Linked DNA regions of Homo sapiens: region 2 is linked to region 1. Evidence: promoter capture Hi-C in 16 types of primary human blood cells and fetal thymus (Javierre and others, 2016). All regions are on one chromosome and are shown on one strand. The core of a region is centred on a gene start or on the middle of the fragment in contact, and the rest is flanking DNA. Distances in the headings are between cores, read along the strand shown.

Region 1 (6,746 bases), core at 3,182-5,681:
TATTCTTTTTAAAGACCAAAGTAAAATAAAAATGTGTTGGTGGATTGAATTGTGTCCTCCAAAAAGATGTCCATGTCCTAACCCCAGTACTCGTGAATATGATCTTACTTAGAAATAGGGTCTTTGTGGATGTAATTAAGTTAGGGTTCTGGAGATGAGATCATCCCGGCTTAAGGGTGAGCCTGAAATCCAATGACTGGTGTCCTTATAAGAAAAAGGAGAGGAAGATTTGACATGTCATATGAAAGAAGGCCATATGAAGGTAGAAGCGGACATTAGAATTATGCTCTCACAAACCAAGTAATGCCAGGAGCCACCAGAAGCTGGAAGAAGCAAAGGATTCTCCCCTAGAGCATGGCTTTGGCAAACACCTTGATTTTGGATTTCTGGCCTTTAGAACTGTGAGAGAACAAATTTCTGTTGTTTTAAGCCACCCAGTTTGTAATAACTTGTTATGGCAGCCCTAGGAAACTAGTATACCTACCAAGTAAATACTCCAGATTTATTTTCTATGTAGATCAATTTTTGCTTCAGTTTATAAACATTTTCCTCCCTGTCCATTTAAGACTTTGGCCACAGGGTTAAGAGTGGTGATTCTAATTGTTCCAAAATACTTCAGAACATTAGTCCCCATTTATTAGTATTGATCTTGAACAACAAATAAACACATTTCATGGGAACACATACATTTCAATAACTTTCCTATTCCCTATCTAGGCATTACAATCAAGAAAGTAGCAGGGAAGTTGTGCCAGTTCATCAATTTGTTGCTTATCATCTCCAAATTCACCATTATTGACTGCTCTGTGAAAATGGATCTGATCCATTTAAGTATTTTTCCTTTTGTCAGCTGGCAATGAAGCTTTTCCAGTAGAGGAAACTGGAAAGATGTTGCAGAGAGAAAAGGTTTTGCTCCCTCCTTCTGGCCGGCTTACTGGGTAGGGTGTTCCTGCAGCTTGTGCAGCTCTCTCCAGTGGCTGGCTTCTGTGTTGCAGTTTCAATAGCACCAGGCCACTTCCCCTGGCACCCTCCCTCTTGTGGTTTTTGTAGTAGAGTTCCTCTGCTGAAACATTTCCCTATGAACATCCTTCTCAGGCACTCTAGCAGGCCAATTCCAGAGGGTGGGTTTCCAGCAAGTTCTAGAATGCAGGGTTCCAGTAATTTCCAGAGGTTGGAGTTTCAGCAAGTTCTGCCTGTAAGGCAATACAGAATATTTCCTGCCATAGAGTGACTCTCCACTGGCTGTGTTCTCTCTAAGAAGGTCTGGATCTCAGCTAAGGGAAGAGAATGCTTTATCTCAGTTCCAGGGGTAGTGGCTATCATATCTACTATTATATACCTGCTACATCTGTAGTATTTAGAGTTCTCTTTACTTCTTGCTAGCTAAGCCCTCATTATTCCAATTTCCTGTTATCATTAATAATTGAACTGACTGATACAGAGGTGATCATGGAATAACTGCCACATAAATTTTGAAAGAGTACACAAATACATTTTCACACGAATTTTATAACAATTCCTTGAAGTAGACATGGCAAATACTATTTATTATTCACATTTTACAGGTGAGGAATGAGGTTCACAGGCTGTGAGTGGACCAAATTCATAGTCATTTTTATCATTTGTAAAATGAGAATAACAATTGAACCTATCTCCTAGGGTCATTGTAAAGATTAAATGAGGTAAGCACGTAAAAGTGCTGAGGACATGATAATGGCTTGTTAAGTGTTAACTGTTACATACAGGTCAAACATCCCTAATCTAAAAATCCAAAATTCAAAATGCTCCAAAATCCAAAATTTTTGAGTGTCAACATGATGCCACAAATGGAAAATTCCACATCTGACCTCAAGTGGAGGATCACAGTCAAAAGGCAGTCAAGACTTTGTTTCGTGCACAAAGTTATTGAAAATATTATATAAAATTATCTTCAGTCTATGTGTATAAGGTATAAATGGAACAAATGAAATTCAAATTTAGACTTGGGTCCTATAGCTGAAATATCTCATTATGTATATGCAAATATTCCAAAATCTGAAAAAGTCCAAAATCCAAAACATTTCTGGTCCCAAGCACTTTGGATAAAGAATACTCAACCTGTACATTATACTTCAACTATAAAATTATTCAGTCTGGTATTTTGCTAAACTACTTGCAATGAGTTGTCTAGGTCTCATGTATCTTTTTATATCATTTTGTTGTATCAATTATTCATATTTGTTTTGTCAAGTTCCATGGCAATAACAACCAAAGATAAGCCTATCACTTCACAATTACCTCCTGTGGTTATTGCTTTCTGAGGAAAAAAAAAAATTACAAGTGAGAGCTAATCAACCTAGGCTAAGTTTATGTCAACTTAGAAATTCAAGGCCCACTGTGGTCAGTGGCAGAGCTGAGTGAGGAAACCCAATTCCCAAGAATATAGCCTTAAATTTAGATGAACCTTCAAATTGTAATATTTCAATGTAAATAATACATGCAACTTAAAATGCATTTCTGGTCTCATCAGGTTTAGGTGAGGGAGTGGGGTGGGGACAGGATGTTACGGGAAAGTAGGGAAGAAAAGGACCCGGTTTACTAATCTGTGTCAATTATCATACCAACCCCTTTCATCATTGAAGATTTCAGCAACCAAATACTGAAGGTCAGTGCGGTACCAAGGGTTGGGGTTATATATTAAACAGTGTAGTCCCGAACCTGTAGAAAACTATTGATACCTTGCATAGAGATAGGCAATAATACATAAAGATTATTGAAAACTCTTGGTTAAAGTACTTTAGTAGTATTTGAAAACACAATAGGAAATTACCCTGTAGGAATGGGATGTGTTAGATCCCAGCCGTAGATACGGCACGTGTTAAACTTTCAGAAGGGGAAACATGCTTCACGGCTGATTGCAAATTTCTCATGCAATATTTGTCAGAATCCAGGAGCATTTTAAGTGGTCTTCTAACAATATAAGCCCCGCACTTTGGACTGGTAAGTACAACATTTTCATTTGGTAAATAATAATAATTTTAAACAGAAACAAGTCACGACCAAATAGCGACTCATCCTCCCCCAGGCATAAAACCCTTTAGCCAGCTAGCCGCCTTTCCACGGGGTAGAGTATAAACAGCAAACAAAACCGCTTTGGTACCGGGAGGAAAAAGGGGAAAGGAGTCGAGTCAAAACACCGTCTCTTAAGTTCCTCAAGATCAACCCAGGGGGAAGGGTCCTCCACCGGAAAGGGCCGGATTGCCTTCACAGGAAGGGAAAGTCACTCCGGAGCTCGCAGACGCGAATGCCACCACAGAGTTCCAAGGCGGCTGCCAGAGCGTCGGCCGTCAGTTAGCACCTCCCCCTCCTTCCCAGAGCTGTAGCTAAGCAACCATCGGGCTCCGGGAGAGTCTAGGCTCAGCTGCTGTATTAGTGCCTCTAGCGGGGAACTATGAGCGCTGCAAAACCCTATCACCATTTTTACCCTCCCCTCTCTCCACCCCCTTTGCCCCCGCCCACCTCTTCGCCACTTCGGCTCCTCCCTCTTCTCGCTCCGTCTATCTCTCTCTCTCTCTCTCTCTCCGCCCCCCCACCCCCCGCGTCTCTCTCTCTCTCTCTCTCTCTCTCTCTCTCTCTCTCTCTCTCTTTTTCCTCTCTCTCTCTCTCTCTTCTCTCTCTCTCTCTCACTCACTCACTCTCTCTCTCCCTCTCCCTCTCCTCTCCTTCCTCCTCCGCCTCCTCAGCTCTTGGGCTAGAATATCTATGGGTCGAAACGTGATGCGATGAATTCGAGAGAGAGCGAAACTAGGACGAGGAGTGCGGCGGAAGCGGCGGGACTCCCGGGCATGGGGGCTTCACCACAATAGAGGCAGCGCCCCCACCCGCCCCCGCCAGCCCCTCCGGAGCGAAGCCCCCAAACCCCCTCGGGAAAAGGATGGCGGCAGCACCTACCCAGATCGAAGCCGGTGGGTAGCTGTGTCGGGGGGTGGGGGGGTGCTAAGGGAATGGGGGCTTAGCGCGAAGGCTGTCAGTTTCTTTTGAAAAAGCTTCTATTTCTCTTCTCTACCTCCCTCTGAACCTCTTTTCCCCCCTCTTCCCCAGAGCTGTATTACCTGATCGCTAGGTTCTTGCAGTCTGGACCCTGCAACAAATCCGCTCAGGTAAGGGGAAGAAAGAGATCTGGGAGTCGTGGTGAATGGTCCCAGTGGGGAAATCGAGGCAGCGGGACGAGCAGTTCCGTTGAGGGTGAGGGAAAGGCCGGCCTTGACTAGTCAAACGGTCAGCGGCTGGGCTTTAAGTGTGGAGGGAGGAATGGGTTGATGGCCCGAGCTGCTCCTCATATCTGTGTTTCCCTTTTGCTCAGGTGCTAGTGCAGGAGCTCGAGGAGCATCAGGTACGGAGCCCCTTCGGGAAGGGTGGGGAGGGTTGAGGTGAGACTGGAGGAAGGGGAGGGCAAGTCAGGGGCGGAAGACGGGCTGGGATAGAGGCTTCGATCTGGGTACCCGTAGCTGTTGTCACCGGGGTGAATTGGCTTCTTCCCTCAAAAGGGGCAGACAACGCTGGGGTCTTAACTCGTCCCCGCTTTATGCTTGTGGGAGGCAGTTTTTCAGGATTTCCTTCTCGACCCCCCTTCCCCCCCCCCCCCATATACTTGTCTAGCTCTGAGCCAATAGCTATCAGGCCGAGAGAAATAAAGACGGTAAAGTGTTGAGGACTGGGACACAGGTTGGGTCCAGTTGATGGGGAGCGGAGGCTTTTCCTTCATCATTTGCCTCCGCTTCCCCCTTTCTTTTCGTCCGGCCCCCAGCTGATTCCGCGCCGCTTAGATTGGGAGGGGAAAGAGCACCGAAGAAGCTTCGAGGATCTGGTGAGTAAAGTTTTCATTTCAACTTAACCTAACTCTTTCACCACTCCCTCCCCACCTTGTACCCCCAACCCGCCCCCCACCTCTCAGCCGACGAGGTTCTAGAGCTCGGTGCAGAGCCAAAGAACGACTGCCCCTTCCCCCATCCCTGCTAGTCGGAAAAAGGGTACCTTGCCCTCCCCTTGGCCCTGCTTGTTTCCACCCGAAAACTTTGAAGAATGTGAGTTGATTATCAGAGGTGCCGTGTTGTGGATTATGAATATGTTACAAACATTGGGGAAGGCCCATTGTAGGCGGAAAAGGGAGAGAAACCAAGGGGTTATCTTGGGGCACGTACTAAGGTCTGACGCTGGCCAATGACAGCGTTGGTAACAGCCCGGAGTTCCGGATTAGTGGAAGAAAACTGGTTTCTGGTTGGTCCTGGCCTGAAATACGGGAACTAAGGCCAGGCTTGGTCTTTTTTGGGGGGGGCGGGGGGGCAGGGGGGAGGCGTGGGAGGAAGGGGCTCTGGAGGGGAATTGACGGACCAGGGATTAGGAAAAACGACATAATTAAAAATAATAAGGAGCGTCAAGCCAATTTCAAATTTTGCCGGTTAGGTAATGGTCTACTGAGTAAAAGCATAATCGTTACGTATCTCCGATTTTATAAGCTCATTCAATTATCAGTTAAGTCGCATTTGCATAGACCCGTTTTCACTAAATAGAAACTGAGTTATCACTTTTTGAGAATTGGTGAAACACGATTTTGGGTTTACAAGGAGACAACAATGGACATATTTAAAAATGGAATATACTTTAGTGAAGGACCAAAGGCATTGGTCTATGTTGTTTCTCCTGCAAATATAATTCATAGTATAAATGTACCTTGTGTTCAGCATTGACACACAAAAACAGGTGATCCTTTTTATTTTGCGGGGGAGGTTCCCTTGTGTTAGCTGCTGCCACAGTGCATTGGAGGGTAGTGAAAGGAGAAAGGAATGATGTTACTAAAATCTAAATTCAGCTATCTTTCCTTCAAGTAAGATCCAAGTGGAGGAAAATCGGACAAAGTTAAAGAAAGTTGGCGGTGTATGATAGACTCTAAATATAAATGATTTAAAATTTGCTTGCAATAAGACTATATTTAAATTGCTTCAATGTTCATTTTGTTATTTTTGTTTGTGTTATCTTACAACAGTGAGGCCACATTATTATTATCAAGTCTACCGACTGTATAGTTTTCTTATATTTTGCAAATCACAGAAAATGGTATAATTGTGATAAGGGTAAACTCGACCATCTGTATTATTAATAGTAACAATTTCTCAGATGGAGAAAAATTAGTTTTGAAAAACTTCATGTACTGCCAGGTTAATTTGTAGTCAGTCTTTCTGTTGGACTTAAGTCTTTCCCTCCCCCTAAAAGAGGCAAAAACAACAGTGCCTACTAATATGTTTTAACACTTAATGACTGATACAGGTTTTTATATATAGTTTTAATACTGAGGTGTATTGAAAATGTTTTCCTTTACATTTGTCCTTCTCACAGCCTATATGTGTTATTTTAAGCAAGTGGCAAAGGAGATTAAAAGGAAAAAGCTTTTTTGAAACTAACTTGACAGTGATAAAAAGGAAATGAAAATCAAAGTAATTAAAAAATAGTCTCCTCACCAAAAAAACCCCAACAACCCAGTTTACTAGACTTTTCCTCATATTGTAAAGACATTTTTACATAATTGTGATCAGTGTCCATTTTATGCTTCATATTTTTCTTAACATTTAAAAATGTACTTGTGTATTTGAATAGTCATCATTATTTTAATGGTAAGAAAAAATTCAGTTGTATTTAAGGTACGATATGATTTGAACCAAGCTTCCAGTTGAGCATTTGAGCTACTTCCAGATTTTTACTAATAACTTTGC
Region 2 (6,746 bases), core at 1,239-3,738, 3.7 Mb before region 1:
GGCATTCCAGAGAGAAAACAGATAACCAAAAAGACCAGAGTAGCTACAGCATAATGAGCCAGGGCAGGAACAAATGGTGGGAAATACACCATAGAAAGGACTTGGGACTTTATTGTTAATGTAATGAGATGCATTTGGAGGGCTTTAAATCAGGTAGTGATATGGTCTGATTCAAACTTTATAAAGAATATTTTGACTGATGTTAAGAGAAACTTTTGAAGAAGGACAAGAGTGGAAGAAAATAAACGATGTAAGATGCTTTTGCAGTATTTCAAACTAGAAGTTACAGTGACTTTAGTGTAACGGTGATAGAGGAGGTACAGAGTATTCAGATTTGGGGCCTAATTTGAAGGTACAGTCTTCAAACATACTAGTGGCTTAGCTACAGAGTGAGAGGGGAAAAGAGGAAGGAAAAATTGGATTAATTTAATTGCCTCTATTTGTACTGTGATTTCATACAAGTCTTCTTGTGTCTTTGCATTATAAACCCTTCAAGGGTAGGGACTCTGATCCTTTTTCTCATATCACTTCAGTTTCAGGTAATTCATAAACGTAATTTATGAATACGTTAATCAATTATCAATAGGCTTTTTCTGAATCCTCCACTTTACCCATATAATTCCTTCTTTGAAAGTCTCATATTTCATCATTTTTAACACCCTAATCTAGGGGTGTGTCACCTAGAAGCTGGGTTAGCATTACAACTGTCTAACTGGTCTCTCTCACTCCAGCCTATCGCAATGTTACTGAAAATGCAAATTAATGACTTGAAAAATGTGCTTTCAGTCATTCATTCAATACGTACTTACTTATTTGTCTACTTTGTATTTAGAGGCTTTCTAGATTTGAGGGATATAATAATAAACAAAACAGACAAAAATCCCTGCCTTCATAGAGCTTACATTTGCAATAACTAAATATATAAAATACATTTAATAATAATAAATACTATGAAGAAAAATGAAACAGAAAAAAGGGTATAGAGAGTGTTAAGGATATCACAATTTTAAATAGGAAAACCTCTTTAAAGAGGTTGCATTTGAGCAAAGATTTCAATCAAGTGATGGAGTAAGTCATATAAAGATCAGACAGTACAACAGTACAGGGTCACTGCTGTGGACATGAGCTTGACTTGTTTGAGAAATAGAAGATTAATATATTTGTGAATTAGTGGCTGAGTGACAGGAGGTGAGGTCAGAAAGATGGCGGAGGCCAGATCATTTAGGGCTTTGAGGACATGGTAAGAAATCTGCATTTTATTGTATATGTGAAAGGAAACCATTGAACAATCTGAAGTTGAGCATAATCTGGCTTTTGTTTTAAAAAATCACCTAAACTCCTCTGTAGATAATTGACTATAGAGGATTGAGGTCACATGCTTTATGGCTTTTGGTGGCTTTTAATCAAATAAAAGTTATCTGCCTATTTTCAAAGGCTTTTATTATTAGCCAATTCCATCTACCACTAGTCCTCAGCATATGCCCTCTATTTGTCAAGCTGATTTCATCATGGGCTTCCTCACATCATATGAATTTATACGTCTCTACCTTTGCCTATCTTTCCCCTTTAAGACGGTGACTTCCATCTGCTCTTATCCACCATTCAAGAACCATCTCAAGTTTTAATTACATAAAATGCTTCCCTGACTTTTCACCTCACTGATGTCTCCAATAATTAAATAATGTAGCTCTTGTCTGTAGTTAATGACTGAGCACATGATCATGTACTTTATTTTATTGTTGTGAATATTTACTGTGTGCTAATCTTGTCTTCCAAACGATGTTGCAAGTTCTATGATAGCAGAGAATCAATGAATTCTATATCTCTCATGGCATCCAGCAAATCTGGGAAGTATATCAAGTGACTGTTAAATGATGTAACATGTGGCTTGACTTCTTTTCTGGAATGGTATAATGGTGATCACCCAAGAAGCTTCTGCCAGAATAGGAATTGAGGTTGGATGAATAAAAACCATAGTTTCTTTCCTCAGTCATCAGAGCCAACCAGTCACGTATAATAGTACACTTGCTTTTACTGTAAAATTCTAAAGGCTCGATGGACACCTTATTGATTTTAGTAAAACTGAATATTTACCTGTCAATCGAACACTGACCACAAAGGACTGTATTTCCTTATGCTATCATTTGATTTTGGCAGCATGTAACAATTTTGTTAAAACCCAATGTCAAGTTGGAAGGCCAGGCAGCACCTGCTCAAATGGCTGGCATGTAACTACTATAGTCACAGGGATGCTCGGTGTTCACAGCTATTCAGGAAGGTATAGAGAGCCCTGGCCGTAGATGTAGCTGATTTGTGTGAGGAAGAGGCAGTCCAGTTGCAGGCAGCCATCTCTCTTCCCCCCTCCCAACTCTTGGGTTCTGGGCTGAGGCCAGGGACTGTCCTGAGCTGATCGCAGGCTCCCATTGGCCGCTGTCTTTTGTGACGTCACGATCATGATGAGAATTGATGATCGGACACGCTGATTTCATTGTCTGAAGCGGCACTGGAGACCCAGGAAAAATCTCGCTGAATCCGCCTGCCCCAGCAGCGGCCTGATCTGGGTTCCGCTGATTCCTTTCGTAACCGCACCACACCCGAGGTAAGCACTCAACACTAAGTGGGTGAGAAGGGCGAAGGAGGGAGGGCAAAGCACCGGGATAATGCTTTTCCTAGTTTGGGGCGAGGTTGGGGGTGGGGGGGTCCATAGGTTCCGTGGCCTAAACAGGCAGACAAAAAACTGGTGCGGATCCTAGGGAGCCAAGTGCCTCTATCCTCCTAGCGAAGGCTGGCGGCTGAGTGAGATTAGAAACGAGCTGCGGATAGGGATACAATGGGGATTGCCAGAGAGCGAAGGACCTTGCTCGGAGAGAGAGCGATGTTTGGGACGCGCTTCTGGACGGGTAGTAGGAGGAAGTGGCGCCTCTGCCTCCGAAGAAAGGAGGGGATTGAATTCTACCACTTCTAGATTTCACTGGACAGTAGATTTCTCACAGCCCTACTCAAAGGCACTGAGAGCGTAGCGCCTGCGCATTAGCACCTTGGTGGGGGCGGGGTGGGTCACTGTGAGGAGAATAGGCGTGGAGTTTGCACAGGCGCTGTTTCGGTTTCACTGGAAGAGGTGGGGCTGAGCCATTTCTGTGCTGAATTTGGAAAGTAGAGACCCAGGGAACATCCCAGGCCTTGTGATGTTTCAAGCACCAGTTGATGGGGAGAGATCTGCCATTTAGTTTAAACTGGCCTACTGAGTAAATCCAGCTTCAAAATGAGCCTTATAAATTTGAGAAGGCACATTCTAAATTTCCAGATATTAGATGTTGAATAACGGAATGAACTCTAGAAGAATTTGTGAAATAGAAGTTTATCAGATAAGAAACTGTTTGGAAAAATAAACACTAATTATTCAAATGAATCTAACTTTTAATCTTAAAGGAGCTCTGATTTGAGGTGACAATGATTTTGAACCTTAAATTCTTTGGAAAGACTCAGAATGAAGTCCATTGTGGAGGCTCAGAGTAAGAAATTTTCCTTTCTTGCCTTTTTCTCTTCTTGGGACAATCTCTTATAAATATTTAGTCTCCATATCAAGTTTGGTGCTGAGTCCATCTTCTTCCTCTGTGTCTCTGCTAGAATCACTGAAGTCAAATATTATTTTGAGAAGCCCTTTCCCGCACCCCTTCATTGGGAAGGCTGTTATATTACTTATATTAAGGCTTTTATTACTCAGCAGTTGTGGGGAACAATGAAGAACAACCTGCCTGTCTATTATTGATGAATAGATTGTACAGTATTGTTATTAATTGCCCTCCACAGTCTGATCATAGACTCCTGACAATTTTACAGAGGAATCTGGATTTTTCTCTATTTCTCATAGTTAAGGGATTATCAAGTACTGGTAAATTTTCCTTTGAAAGCCTTCTCACACGTTCCTCCTTTACAATCTAAATTCTCATCAGCACCCATGTAGTCACTGTAGGAGCTTCCTAGGCAGTCTTCACCTGTGCCCCAAATCCTTAGTGGTCTGTGAACACTTCTTTCAACAAATCACTTTCTTTAACCAACATATTCTTGGCCCCTTATTTTCTATTGTTTCAAGCCTAATTCCACCCGAATTTTAAAGAACTTCATAATCTGGCCTCATTGTAATGCAGGAGCCTTATTTTCCTTTATTCTTCAGGGCACAACTCTCTTTAATGTTCAGTTAGTGAGAACAATCTACCTTTATATCTTTGCTCCTTATACCATTACTGTCCCCTCCACGTAGGATGTCCTCCTTCTACATAATTCACATCTTACCCACTTTGGAAACTCAACTCAAATTCCACCCCTCCACAAGTGCCTTCCAAATTAATCTAATGCAAGTGTTACTGACCTCACTTTTCCTAGAATTCCCACGTCAATTATTGTCTTTGTTAGTTGCTTGTAGGCTGCTTTGTATTGTCTCCTTTGTTATTGTTGTTGTTGTTGTTGTTGTGTGTGTGTGTGTGTGTGTGTGTGTTAGACTGGAATCCTCAAATGGATTTTAAACCCTTCCTTAAGGGTTGGGACCATGACATCCATTTCTTTATTATCTGCCCATAGCACCTAACTGAATAATCAAAATAGCTGTAGCTATATATGTTCTTTTTTTTTCCCCTAGAAAACAATTTCCTGGGAAATGAAGCAGTATTTTTATAGAGAGAACTGTATACATGTGAAAGCTTATTCATCGTTGGTCAGGCAAGAGACCCTCCAATGACTAAATAAACCTGAATTTAAGTCAGAGGAAAGAAATTACACAGATCTCTATTTACTGGGTGGCCTTCAAATATATCATGTCCTCATAAACAAGATCAAGGGAGGGAACACTATCCCAGAAGAGGTTCTGTCTGTAATCTTCTCAGTTTGAAAAATACTAAATAAAGAGGTATTCCACTGTTCTATACTTCTCTTTGGTGACATTGTATCATGTATCTTTAAAAATACACAAATTACTCACTTTTTATTACATTTTATCTACAATTGCTATCTTATATTGATTATTCCTGATAGTTTTCATGTGTACATCTCTTGAATCAGAGATGACCTTTGTGATGGTTGTTACAATTGCTATTATATATTGGTTGTCACTTTCCTATCCTTCAGGCTTCAAATTGCATTCTTCTGCAGAGCTCGTTTTACTTGAATGACAGTGTGATTATGGTTTCATACAGAGGTTTTTCACATATTTCACTTTGGCTCCTGCCTCACTTTGAGGTACCATCCCAATATCACATAAAAGTTTTTGACTTAGAAACATAGATTAAAAGCAGTCTGAAGGGTGTTTTAACCTGTAAATTAGAACATCATTATTGTAGATAATTGTAAGTGAACCATGAATGTTATTCATTGTAAGGGAAAATCCTTTGACCTTTTCTCTGATTACCTATATTATATGAAACTCCTCAAAGCTGTTTTAGCTTATAGCCAGCTTTCATAGTAATTGAGACTTTCCTAGACATTTACACATAGACCAATAGAGAAAACTGATCAAACTTAAGCAACTCTGGATAGAATGTGGTGCTTAGAAATATGCTGTTAAGTTTAGAGAGCCCAAAATAAAATATGAAAAAAACTGAGTGTGACATGCGTTTTTTAAGGCTTGTTTTACAATTTCTATCTGGGAGGATGACATTGGGTTTTCTCATTTAAGTTGTAGAGTTTAAGTTGGGAGAGATTTTATAGTGATAAGCCAATCCCCTTATTTTACAAGTAAAGAATCTGAAGCCCAAAGAAGTGAGGTACTTTACTAGCATTAATAAACACTAATATTTATTAAGCACTTAGTGCCAGGCATTGTGCTAAAAACTTTATATATCTTATTACATTTAAACATCACAAAATCTATATGAAAGAGTGTATAGTATTATTTCCCATTTTACAAATGAGAAAACATATTTCAAAGCAGTTGATTTTCCCAGGACCACACAGCTACTATACGTCACAGTCAAGACCCAATCACGGGTTTGACTTCTAATCACCAAGTTATGCTTGACTAAGGTCAATATAATGAACTTTTGGCAGAGCTTTAGCTAGGATCTAAATCTCTGGAATCTGAGATGTGTGTGTGTGTGTGTGTGTGTGTGTGTGTGTGTGTGTGTGTGCATACATTCCATAAACACCATATTACTTCTACAAAGTTAGAGATTTGTAAGATTACCCAAATAAATGGTGTATACCTACATTTGTTTTAGATATTTTATTAAAACACACTCTCTCAGTCTTGATTGAAAAAATATAGCATGAAAATTTGCATAAAATACATTTTAAAAACATTTATTTCCTTCTGCTTTTAAAATTGTATCATACTTCCAGAGGGAATTATATTTTTATAGTGTAATCTCCAACAGAATAAATAAAATTTGAATTGTTGATTTTTATTTTATTGTGGAGTCAGTGAGCTAAAACTGAAATTGGTGGTTTCTTAATATACTTGTATTGAGTACACTATATCTAGGTACACTAGTTTGGGAGCAAATATCGATAATTCTAGAGATATATTATGCATAAGAAGGGAGCTTGAGACACTGGCATATTCAGAAGCTATCACTGATATCCTAATACCTTTCCATTCTGCATAAAATTTTAAGGAAATAAGTTGAAACCTGTCTGTCCAAATGAGGTCATTCTTGTGCCAACTAGTGGCAAAATTGCCTGGATTAAACCAGAGATCTAGGTATAAGGCAACTGGATACATGAAATTATACTGTTAGTCAATTAAATGCTTCACC

Evidence for each region. The method cuts DNA at HindIII sites, captures the fragments that hold promoters and counts their contacts. A CHiCAGO score of 5 or more calls a contact.
Region 2: the fragment with the promoter of HDX here is called in contact with a fragment that was not itself captured in region 1 in 2 of 17 cell types (total B cells and total CD4 T cells); the score reaches 5.6 in total B cells.

What each region holds. Positions count from the first base shown.
Region 1 is chrX:80,806,639-80,813,384 of GRCh38, reverse strand. BRWD3 (bromodomain and WD repeat domain containing 3) reads left to right here and starts at 3,508. Exons shown (of 41, transcript NM_153252.5): 1 at 3,508-3,944; 2 at 4,081-4,139; 3 at 4,343-4,372; 4 at 4,787-4,846. The coding sequence starts at 3,914. LOC124905202 (a long non-coding RNA gene) reads right to left here and starts at 4,577. Exons shown (of 2, transcript XR_007068278.1): 1 at 4,092-4,577; 2 at 615-1,274. RefSeq lists an enhancer at 3,194-3,273. The HindIII fragment of the contact is 808 bases long and covers 4,028-4,835 here.
Region 2 is chrX:84,498,195-84,504,940 of GRCh38, reverse strand. It overlaps HDX (highly divergent homeobox), which reads left to right and starts at 2,488. Exons shown (of 11, transcript NM_001177479.2): 1 at 2,488-2,599. RefSeq lists a silencer at 2,315-2,464. The HindIII fragment of the contact is 2,765 bases long and covers 1,935-4,699 here.